2 separate regions of the Homo sapiens genome follow, and region 2 is linked to region 1. The links are contacts of gene promoters, found by promoter capture Hi-C in human tissues and cell types (Jung and others, 2019). All regions are on one chromosome and are shown on one strand. Each heading gives the region's core, a stretch centred on a gene start or on the middle of the fragment in contact. The rest is flanking DNA. Distances are from core to core; before and after follow the strand shown. Region 1 holds the start of BMPER (BMP binding endothelial regulator). Region 2 overlaps BBS9 (Bardet-Biedl syndrome 9).

Region 1 (5,675 bases), core at 1,201-3,700:
TAGTCTTCCGAACCTGATAATTGTTTGATACAGCCATTTACCTTCACCCATTTATCACTTCAAAACATTGACCTCAACTCTTGTCATGAAAAAATTTATGTAGTATAAACTCAGATAGCTTGGCTTTTGCCTAAACCGAAATGAATTCCTTCTCCAGCGCCACACAGCATGCTGATCTAGCAACAAGTAGTCCTCTATCATTCTGGGGCTTTGCATTTGACTGCCTTAATGTATTTCCAACAAGGTTTTATAATGTGTAGTTTCTAACCAAATTTTGCCAAAAGTGATTGGCATGTAAAACACTCCTAAGCAAAAATGTTTACCTTGTAGGTCTATATTTCATCTCAGAAATTCTTATTCACATTACTTAATCTCCCCCAAGTGGTTACTTATTAGACTTATCATTAACTACTAAACTAAAATAAATGGAAACAAATTATTTTTTGAGTCTTCTAACCACTGATAGTGTTAACTAAGCAGCTGACAGCCAAGTGTCATTCTCTATTAAGGATGGAATTGTCCTTTCCGACTCATGCTTCCAAATCAGAAATAAAGACAGTATTTGAGGGTTTAGGGTATAACAGGCAAAGAAACCCGAGAAAGAAATCCAGAATTACATCTTGTCCTTATGTTTGTTTTTTGTGGCTGTCACCTCTCTTTCCCTTTGTCGCATACCTTATTCCTGACCTTCATACTTAAATCTTATCTCATCATTTTCCCACTGAGCTTAAATGACAGAACCAACGCAGAAAGTTTTGTTGTCCCAAGAATTTGGTTGTAGTAATCATTACTGGAAACAGACATTACAAACTGTCATTTCACCGAGACGTCATACAAAGCCTATCTGAAATTTACGTCTATAAGGATGATGTCAAAGATAAGAATTTCCAGCTGGATGAAATGGAAATTGCCAAAGTCCATAAAACTCAGAAATTAACTGGATTCAACTCACAAACTATGTACAGTTATGTGCAATTTTGTAATGATAAAGACAATTTGTAAGATCTGGTTATATTATCACATTTAATGGATTCACCTTATCAGAGAGAGCAGTTGAGTTCATATTACCTGATCTCCACACTTACCAAGCAGACACACATTATGCAAGGGTTGTCTGTGATAAATGGAATCTGGAGGACTTCACCTTCATTTTCACATTTTGCAACAGAACCTGAAATTCAGGGGGGAAAAATGTTTCATTTAAAGTTAGCTTAGCAGCATGATTTCAACATTTAAAATTTTTACACTAATCCTTTTTGAAACCTCTACCCAAACTTCAGAATTCTTAATGTGGTTTAAATTATTAAATTCACCAAAGCAAAACCTCTGCCCCCAACTCCATTTTCAATAATTTTATTTAAACAGGTTCAAAAAAGAAAAGACTATGATATAGGGATAAATTATCTGTTCTCAGATGGTCTAAGCACAATTCCAAGTATTTCACTGGATTTTTAATAACACTCCTCCTTTATGAAGATATTTCAACTAAGCACACAGCCCCATACGCAAAGAAAAAAATAAAAAATAAAATTTAAAAAAACCCTCAAATTGGGGCAGATTTTAAATTGACCAAAACTCAGAACTGAGTCAATAAACAGGCCTTTCTATGAATCTGTCTCGCATTGTCTTAGGTTTAAATCACTTTTTGAAACGCAATCCCCTTTTCCCTTCTCTTAGAAATTGACTCCATATTTTCTTTTCTGCACCAGGTGTCAGTAAAGTATGTCCTTCAGAATAGCAGCTGAGGTCTTCACCTGCCTGAAAACATATAATTATTATATCCGGCTATTAGTGCCCTTTTTAAATGATAGTTTCTTTAAATTCAAGGTCTTGAGAGCCAGTGCTTTAAAAAGCACTCCTAGCACAGTGGATGTATTGCAACCCCAAAGATGAGAAAGGAAGATGTGCGGAAAACTGCACAAATTTTTTTCCTGAGTTCTACAGAGGGAAAGATTAAAATAAAAGTTGAGGAAAGCATTAAAAATAAATAAAATAATTTCTCAAATTCAAATAGAAGAATGTCTATTATTACTACATTGAAGGCAACAGCCTCTCAGCCCGCAACCTCTTCACCAGCCTTCCCAGCCCTCCCGGGGCTTCGCTTCATCCCCATCGACCAGCGCAGGGCAAGCGCCAAGGTGCGCGCTCCCCACCCTCCCATCCCCGGGGCAAGCCAGCGCCACCTTTCCCAGGTACCAAACCGGCGTCCCGGAGGGCCGGTCCCTCCCGCCCCCTCCCCTACCTGTCAAGAAGGAGGAAGCCAGAGACATGGGGACCCCCGAGCAATTGAGTAGCAGCAAGACGCAGCACGTAATCCCAGGCGAGCGGCGGCAGTAACGCTCAGCCAGAGCCCCGACGCCGGAGAACCAGAGCATCGTCACCTGGAGGGAATCCCTGGCGACTGCAGGTCCCGCGCCGCCGCCTCTGCTCAGCTGCCGCAGCTCACAGTCGAAAAGGGCTCTCAGCCGGCGTGTCGGGAGACCGTCCGCGAAGGAGGGAGGCGGGCGCCCGAGAGCTGGGGGGCGGGGGGGTGTGAGGGAGGGCGGGGGGAGAGACCAAGGTGTGGGGGCGCCCGGGGAGGAGGGGTCCTGCGGCCAGGCTCCTCCGATGCGGCTTTTTTTTTTTTTTTCCTGAGGGAGTTGCTTGCAGTGGCTTAGCAGTCAGCCCCTCAGCGCCGGAGAGGGGGCCAGGAGGAAGGGGTGTTGCGGCAGCCGGAGATAGACTGAGAGGAGCTGCGGCGCTGCCGACTGCGCACTGCCGCTCAGCCGCCGCCCGGGCTGCCGCTACTGTTTCGGGGGCTGTCGCTGTCGCTGCCGCAGCGTCCTCCACTCCCGCACTCCTCACCTCCTGCCAGCCCCGCCGGCTCTCGGCCCTCCCGGAGCGCGCTCGCTCCGCCGCAACAGACGTGGGCTCACCGGGCGCCTCCCGGAACCCGCTGGGGGCGCCCGGGCGCAGGAGGGACTGCGCGATAGCTGCAGCGGGAACTCTCTCGGCCCAGCTTCCAGTTCCCCAGCCCCTCCAGGGAGGCCAGGGCCCCAGGGCGCGGACCAGAGCCGAGAAGGCGCGTCTCCACTGTCCGGGCGAGCGCGGCTCCTCCTCCCTTTCTTGGGGGAGCCCCGGGGATGCCGCAGCACTAGCGCTCAGGCCCGGGTGCCCCAATCCAGCGAGGGAGCAGCAAACGGGACGCAGGGGCGCCCCACCACCCTGCTCGCTCCCGGGTGCCCCACCTTTGGGAAGGAGCGACACACCCGGGGCAGTAGGGCCCCCGCAACTTTTCATGCCCTGCTTTGCTTCCCTCTGGCGGGGGCGCGACAGCGAACTCAGGGGGCTGAGCGGACAGAGGGGCAAGTGGCCTTAGAGATGTGTTCTGTGCTTAGCTGTCTGCGCGTCCTGACACTAGGGATGACCGAAGTTGAAACACACACAAGGTCGATTTAAAAACGTACCGAGGCAAACGCCTTTCGTCCTTAAAAAATGAACAGTCGCTCCGAGACTCCTCCCTTCCAATCTCGGGCGGACCGGGGCGGGGAGGTGGTGTTTGACTAATCATTCATTCACCCGAAAAGAGGGAGGAACCCCCGCCCCACCGCTCATCTCTGGCGGGGGCCGCCGCGCGGCGGCCTCTGCAGCTCGGAGCTCCGTCGCTCTCTCAGCCCGGCTGCGCCCTCTCGCCTCTGCAGCACTGGGTGTCGGGGAGTCAGCTCCTGTGATCCCCCTGCTGAATCGCCGCCTCCTCCCCACGCAGTGGCACCCTCTACTCAAAAGGGGTGCAATCGCAGAGAGATGATTTTTGTAACCAAAGTACGAAGGCGCGAGGTGGGAGTGAGGGACGCTTGGCAAGTGTTGGGACCTGACGATCAGCTAGCTGTCCTTGAGCTCACGGTGGACTACCGACTTCCTCTGTCCAAGAGTTGAAACCGGGTCCCCACGGAACGGACCTAAGGGTCTCCAGGCAAAGTGGGTTGTTTCCATTGTGGAAACTACAGCTTTGAAAATAAATGAGTCTGTTTGCTGACAGGTTTAATCTAGCTTCACCTTAACCCTTCCCTGCCTCGTTGACTGTTTATTCGTTTTTTCGAGTGATTTGGAGACTTCACTTAATTAGTGCAACATTGCCAACATCGCGACACACCGAGGAGCTGATGCGAGCACGTTGCTGTGACGTGGGAAAAATAAGAGAAGGGAAAACTGTCATTAGCTTAGCATGCTCCATTTCCCTCCCAAAATAGATTCTTACCGTAAAATTTAAATTGAAAGAGAAGGCTGATGTGTGATTCCTTCCCTCCCTCCCCCCACCCAAATAAAGCCATGGCCAGGCAGCTTCTCGGAAACCAGTGTGTTTATGTATTTACTAATCATAAAGATAATATGCAAAAAGAGAAAAATCTCTAAATCCAGCCTTACTTCCCAGGGACTCATTAAAAAATAAATAAAATTAAAATTAAAAATTAAATAAATAGAAACCTTTATTGCTGCAGATAAGTACAATCAGTTGGAACCACTATCTCCTCTATCTAAAAAGATTGTCCCTGGATGAGGCTTTTAGATAAAGTTGTTTATCATAATTTAATTATGGAAAGCTGAAGAATAAGGAAGCTGGGAGACCTTTTGTTGCCTTAGCCATAAATTTGGATAAATGCATGCTATGAAATTGCAAGACATTTGAAGGGTGTGCCTGAGTTACTTTGATATGCCTTCCCTCCCTGACACCAGCCAAACATCCTCAGAATTTGCATGACAAATTTCTTTATGATAGAATCTAGCTGTGTGTGGCATTTCCATAATGTGCAGCATGGTGCTTTGGAATGCACTGGAACTCTCCCTGTAGGTGCAAACCCAAAAACCACCTTAAAAACATTTTCATCTGTCTGAAAGTTTGCGAAGGGGAAAAATGCACAGAAGCCTTTGGCAAACCTGTCTCTTCTTCCTGTTTGTTATAAGCCTCTGCCACCAGCGATTTCCCTTGCTGCCTTCTTGGCAAATGGGCCCTGCTTCCGAAAGAGCAGCCTTTTCTCCAAGGCCTTATCAAGATGTTTTCCCATGCATCTACTGCTGCCATCACCCCTCAAGTGATAGTCTATCAGCTGACAACTGGTCTCTGTCTACACAAAACGGAGATATTCCAGGGTCAAAAAGAAAAAAGAATGCCTGCACTGAAAAGCACACAGATCTGCCTTCACAGTTTAACTAAATAAATAGTGGTACCATCCAAATCCCAAAATGGCTTTGGCTGAAATCAAAATGAGGGGAAAAAATGTGTATTTGGGTCTGCTTATGACATTTTTCAAGGGGAAAGAGGTGATGGGGCCCAAAGACCAATGTTTAACTCTGGGCCTGTCCCAGTCTCAATTAGACAAAACTCTGTCTCATCTCTTTCTCTGGAAAATAAACTGTGAAACCTAATCAGATTAAAAGGGGCCAGGCCTGCAGTAAGAGCAACTTTCTTCATCTCCTCTCAAAACTACGATGCTAAATTCTCACTGAAAAATTCAACTGAACATACAACTTAGTCACGTGGATTCAAGTCTGAAAGATGCTTCTAGAGAAATCACATCAACCCAGCTTCCTAAAAGTAGAAACCAATAGACCCTTCCCAAAGGAAACAGGGTAAAGAGATTGTGATACCTACCACTAGGGCAGGGTGCAAGGTATTTCATAAACTTGAGAAAGTTACA
Region 2 (5,552 bases), core at 2,549-5,048, 680 kb after region 1:
TTCCTGTCTATTTCTTTTGAAGGATACTCTAATTCGGATTTCCCAAGCATCTAAATTACCTACTTCTTTAAAATAGTTTTAAAAATAAAGGGTCCAAAATCCAAATGACACTCTTCACAGAAATAGGAAAAAAATCCCAAAGTTTATATGGAACCATAAAAGTTTATATGGAACCAAATAGCTAAAAAAAATTCTGAGAATGAAAAACAAAGTTGGAGGCACCACACTCTCTGACTTAAAATTATATTACAAAGCCATAGCAATCAAAACAATATGGTCCTGGCAAAAAAAAAAAAAAAAAGACACATAGGCCAGAGGAACAGAATAAAGAGCTAAGAAATAAACCCAAATTAATACAGTCTACCAACAGCACCAAGAGGATACAATAAGTAAATAAAGAACAGTCTCTTCAACAACTGTTGCTGGAGCCAGGCACAGTGGCACATGCCTGTAGTCCTAGCTACTCAGGAGGCTGAGGAAGGAGGATCACATGACCTCAGGAGTTCATGGCCAACCTGGGCAACATAGTGAGACCCCATCTCAAAAAAAAAGGGTGACAGAAAAACAGAATTCCCACAAGCTAAAGAAGGAAATTGGGTTCATCTTACACTATACACAAAAATCAATCCAAAATGGATAAAAGAATAGATATCGGCACAGATGTGGTGAAAAGGGAACACTTGTACTCTGCTGGTGGGAATATAAATTAGTACGACTTCTATGGAAAACAATATGAAGATCTCTCAAAGAACTAAAAGCAGATATACCATAAGACCCAGCAATCCCACTATCCTGGGTATCTACCCGAAGGAAAATAAGTCATTACATAAAAAACACACCTGCATGCATATGTTTATTGCAGCACAATTCACAGTTGTAAAGATATGGAATCAACCTAAGTCCCTATCAATTAATGAGTGGATAAAGAAAATGTGCTATATATACATCATAGAATACTACTCAGTCATAAAGAACAAAATAATGTCTTTTGCAGCAACTTCATTGGAAATGGAGGCCATTATCCTTAGTGAAGTAACTCAGGAACAGAAAACCAAATACCACAAGTTCTCACTTATAAGTGGGAGTTAACCCACGGGAACACAAAGGTGTACAGAGTGGTACACTAGACATTGCAGACTCAGAAGCAGGCAGGGCGGAAGGGAGGTGAAGGATGAAAAACTACCTGTTGGGTGCAATGTGCACTATTTGGGTAAAGGGTACACTAAAATCCTAAACTTCACTACTCGCTATACAATTCATCCATGTAAGCAAAAACACTTATACCTCTAAAGTTATTGAAAATTTTTTTTAAAAAATGTAATGGATAAAAGACCTAAATATAAGACCAGGAACTATAAAACTTCTCTAAGAGAACACAGTGGGAAAGCTCCTGGACATTGGCCTTGGCAATGATTTCTTGGAAATCACACCAAAAGAGAAGGCCACAAAAGCAAAAATAAATAAATCAGACTACAGTCAAACTAAAAAGCTTCTATACAGCAAAGGAAACAATCAACGAAATGGTAGCCTACAGGCTGGGAAAAATATTTACAAACCATATATCTCACAAGGAGTGAATATCCAAAATTTATAAAGAACTTATACAATTCAATAGTATCAAAACAATCTGATTTTTAAATGGGCAAAAGACATAAATAGACATTTCTCCAAAGAAGACATACAAATGGCCAAGACGTATATGATAAGGTGCTCAACATCATTAATCATCAGGGAACTGCAAATCAAAACCACTATGAGATAGTTCCTCACACCCGTTAGATGGCTATTATCAAAAAGGCAAAAAACAACAAATGTTGGCAGTGGTGTAGAGAAAGGGGAACTCTTGTATACCGTTGGTGGAAATGTAAATTGATATAGCCATTATGGAAAATAGGATGGAGGTTTCCAAAAAAATTAAAAATAGAATGATCACATGACCCAGAAATCCCTTTTCGGGGCATATACCCAAATGAAATGAAATCACCATCTTGCAAAGACATTTGCACTTCCATGTTTATTGCGGCATTATTCACAATAGCCATGATATGGAAACAACATAAGTGTGCATCAGTGGACAAATGGATAAAGAAACTGTGGTATATAGTTATAATGGAATATTATTATTGTATTACTATAAATATTTGTTATCTAAGAAAGAATGGGATCTTGCCATTTGCCACAACATGGATCAACATGGAGGATATTATGCAAAAGGAAATAAGCCAGACACAGAAAAAAATACATTGCATGTTCTCACTTATATGCAGAATGTAAAAAAAGCAAAACAAAACAAAACTCCAATACATAGAACAAAACAGTGGTTTCCAGGGGCAGATGGCAGGGGGAGAAAATGGGGAGACAGAATACACAATTAGAAATTAGAAGTATACAAGGATATGAAGTCAGAGTATAAAAAGTAGCAGATATGTACAATAAACAGGTCTAGAGAACTAATGTAAAACATGAAGACTATAGATAATAAAATTATATTGTATTTGGGATTTATGCTAAATGAGTAGATTTTAGCTGCTCTTGCCACAGAAATGAAAGAAAAATGGGTAACTAAGTGAGATGATGGATATGTTAATTTGTTTCACTATAGTAATCTTTTTAATACCTATATGTAACTCATAAATCATGTTGTATACCTTAAATATACATAATAAAATTTACTTTTGAAAGTTAAAATAAATAAAGCCTAAGTCTTCATCCTCAATTTTAATTCTCTGTTTTCATTTCCCTCTGTACATCTCAAAAACAAATTATAACTTCATGTCAGGAGATATAAAAATACAGCTGACCCTTGAACAACAACTGTTTGAACTGTGTGGGTCCCCTTATACGTGGAGTTTCTTCCACCTCTGCCACCCCTGAGACAGCAAAATTGGGGTTACCTGAAGAGGGGTCACCTCCTCTTTCTCCTCCTCCCCAGCCTATTCAACGTGAAGATGACAAAGATGAAGACCTGTATAATAACCCACTTAGACTCAATGAACTGTAAATATATTTTCCCTTCCTTATGATTTTCTTAATAACTTTTTTACTATAGCTGACTTTACTGTAAGAATACCATATAAAACACAAATAACATAGAAAATATGTGTTAATCAACTGTTTATGTTATCAGTAAGGCAACAGTAGGCTAATAATAGTTAATTTTCGGGGGAGTCAAAAGTTATACGTGGATATTTGACTTAAAGGAGGGGTCAGCATCCCTAACCCCCACACTGTTCAATGGTCAACTGTATAGAGAAAGTTATTCCTCTTCCTTTTGTGACTAAATCTTCTGGAAGAAAGAAAATGAAAAGGTTTCTGAATTTGAATAAAAGAAAATATAATCTAGCTGTTAAGGATTTTTATTTCAAATTAATATTTATTTTATTTTTAATTGCTTCAACTAAATAAATATTGAAGGATTTAAGGGCAAACGACATGAATAGACAATTCTCAAAAAAGGATATACAAACAGTCAACAAACATGAAAAAATGCTCAACATCACTGATTATCAGGGAAATGCAAATTAAAACCACAATGAGATATAGCACCTTATTTCTACAAGAATGACCACAATTAAAAAGCCAAAAAATAATAGATATTGGCATGGATGTGGTGAAAAAGAAACACTTTTACACTGCTGGTGAGAATGTAAATTAGTACAACCACTATGGAAAACAGTATGGAAATTCTTTAAAGAACTAAAAGTAGAACTACCATTCAATCCAGTAATGCCACTACTGGATATCTACCCAAAGGAAAAGAAGTCATTATATGAAAAAGACACATGTGCACACATGGTCATAAACATGTGTGTTTATATCAGCAATGCAATTCACAATTGCAAAGATATAGAATCAGCCTAAGTGCCCATTAACCAACAAGTAGATAAAGAAAATATGGTATATATACACCATGGAGTACTACTGAGCCATAAAAAGGAACAAAATAATGTCTTTTGCAGCAACTTGGATGGAGCTGGAGGCCATTATTCTAAGTGAAGTAATTCAGAAATAGAAAACCAAATATCGTATGTTGTCACTCATAAGTGGGAGCTAAGTTATGAGGATGCAAAAGCATAGGAATGATATAGAGGACTTTGGGGGTAGGGGGAAGGTTGGGAATGGGGTGAAGGATGAAAGACCACATATTGAGTACACTGTATACTGCTCAGCTGACAGGTGCACCAAAATCCCAGAAATTGCCACTAAAGAACTTATCTATGTAACCAAAAACCACCCATTCCCAAAGAACTATTAACTTTTTTTTAATTTTTTAAAAAAGATTAGGCCGGGTGCAGTGGCTCACACCTGTAATCTCAGCACTTTGGAGGATCAAGGCAGGGGATCACTTGAGGTCAAGAGTTTGAGACTAGCCTGGCCAACATGGTGAAACCCCATCTCTACTAAAAATACAAAAATTAGCCAGGCATGGTGGCGTGTGCCTGTAATCCCAGCTACTCAGGAGACTGAAGCACGAGAATCACTTGAACCTGGAAGGCGGAGGTTGCAGTGAGCTGAGAACTCCAGCCTGGGCAACAGAGTGAAACTGTGTCTCAAAAAAAAAAAAAATTGATGGCTGTAAGGTCCCTAAACAAATTACATAATATATTATCATTCTTGACACAGCTTTTTGAAATTTACTCATTCACTCTTTTTTGGTGCTATGTGGTTTTTAAAAATTGTGGTAAAATATACCATTTTAACCATTTTAGAATGTACAGTTCTGTGGCATTAGGTACATTCATAAGTGCATTGTGCAATCCACCACCATTCATCTCCATAACTTTTTCATCTTTCCTAAGCAAAAGTTTGTATCTATCAAATACTACTCCCCATTATCCTTTCCCAAGCCCCTGGAAACCACCATTCAATTTTGGGTCTACAAATCTGACTACTCTACTCTAAGAACCTTATGTAAAAAGAATCATACAATATTTGTCTTTTTTGTGACTGGCTTATTTCACTTAACATAATATCTCCAAGGTTCATCCATGTTATGGCATATATCAGTACTCCATTCTTTTTGTGGTCAAATAATATTCCATTGTACATATACACCATATTTTGTTTATCCACTTATCCATTGAACACTTGAGTTGCTTCCACCTTTTGGCTATTGTGAATAATGCTGCAATGAACAAGGATGTATAAATATCTTTCCTAATCCCTGCTTTTACTTCTTTTGGACATATACACAGAGTGGAGTTGCTGGATCATAATTTTTTAATTGTTTTGAGTATTAATTCTAGCCATTCTAGCCATATTTTGTATCCTTTTGTTTGTTCTATATAACATTGAAAGTAGAAGAGTTTTCTATAATCCAGCAGCACTTATCTAACACTTATCAATAAAAGACCTATCAGATATAAAATCACAAGAATGTGTAACAAAAGTAGACCTGTGTATTTGTTTAAACTCTAAAGCAGATTATCATCTAATGATCAAAAAGCCATTAAAAATCATCTCCAATGTTAATAGACAAAATTCTCCTGGAAAAAAAAAATCTCCACTATAGAGATGAGAAATTTTCCTCTTCTGGGTCACAAATTATCAAG

Evidence for each region. The method cuts DNA at HindIII sites, captures the fragments that hold promoters and counts their contacts. A contact is called where the count stands out against the background at its distance.
Region 2: a fragment that was not itself captured here is called in contact with the fragment with the promoter of BMPER in region 1 in 4 of the 25 tissues and cell types used here (dorsolateral prefrontal cortex, hippocampus, mesenchymal stem cells and 1 more).

Annotation. Positions count from the first base shown.
Region 1 is chr7:33,902,314-33,907,988 of GRCh38, reverse strand. BMPER (BMP binding endothelial regulator) reads right to left here and starts at 2,450. Exons shown (of 15, transcript NM_001365308.1): 1 at 2,243-2,450; 2 at 1,086-1,171. The coding sequence starts at 2,375. The HindIII fragment of the contact is 7,840 bases long and covers 1-5,675 here.
Region 2 is chr7:33,226,178-33,231,729 of GRCh38, reverse strand. All of the region lies in intron 5 of BBS9 (Bardet-Biedl syndrome 9), which reads right to left. Among named protein-coding and RNA genes, the nearest start is that of BBS9, 99 kb to the right of the region's middle. The HindIII fragment of the contact is 7,781 bases long and covers 1-5,552 here.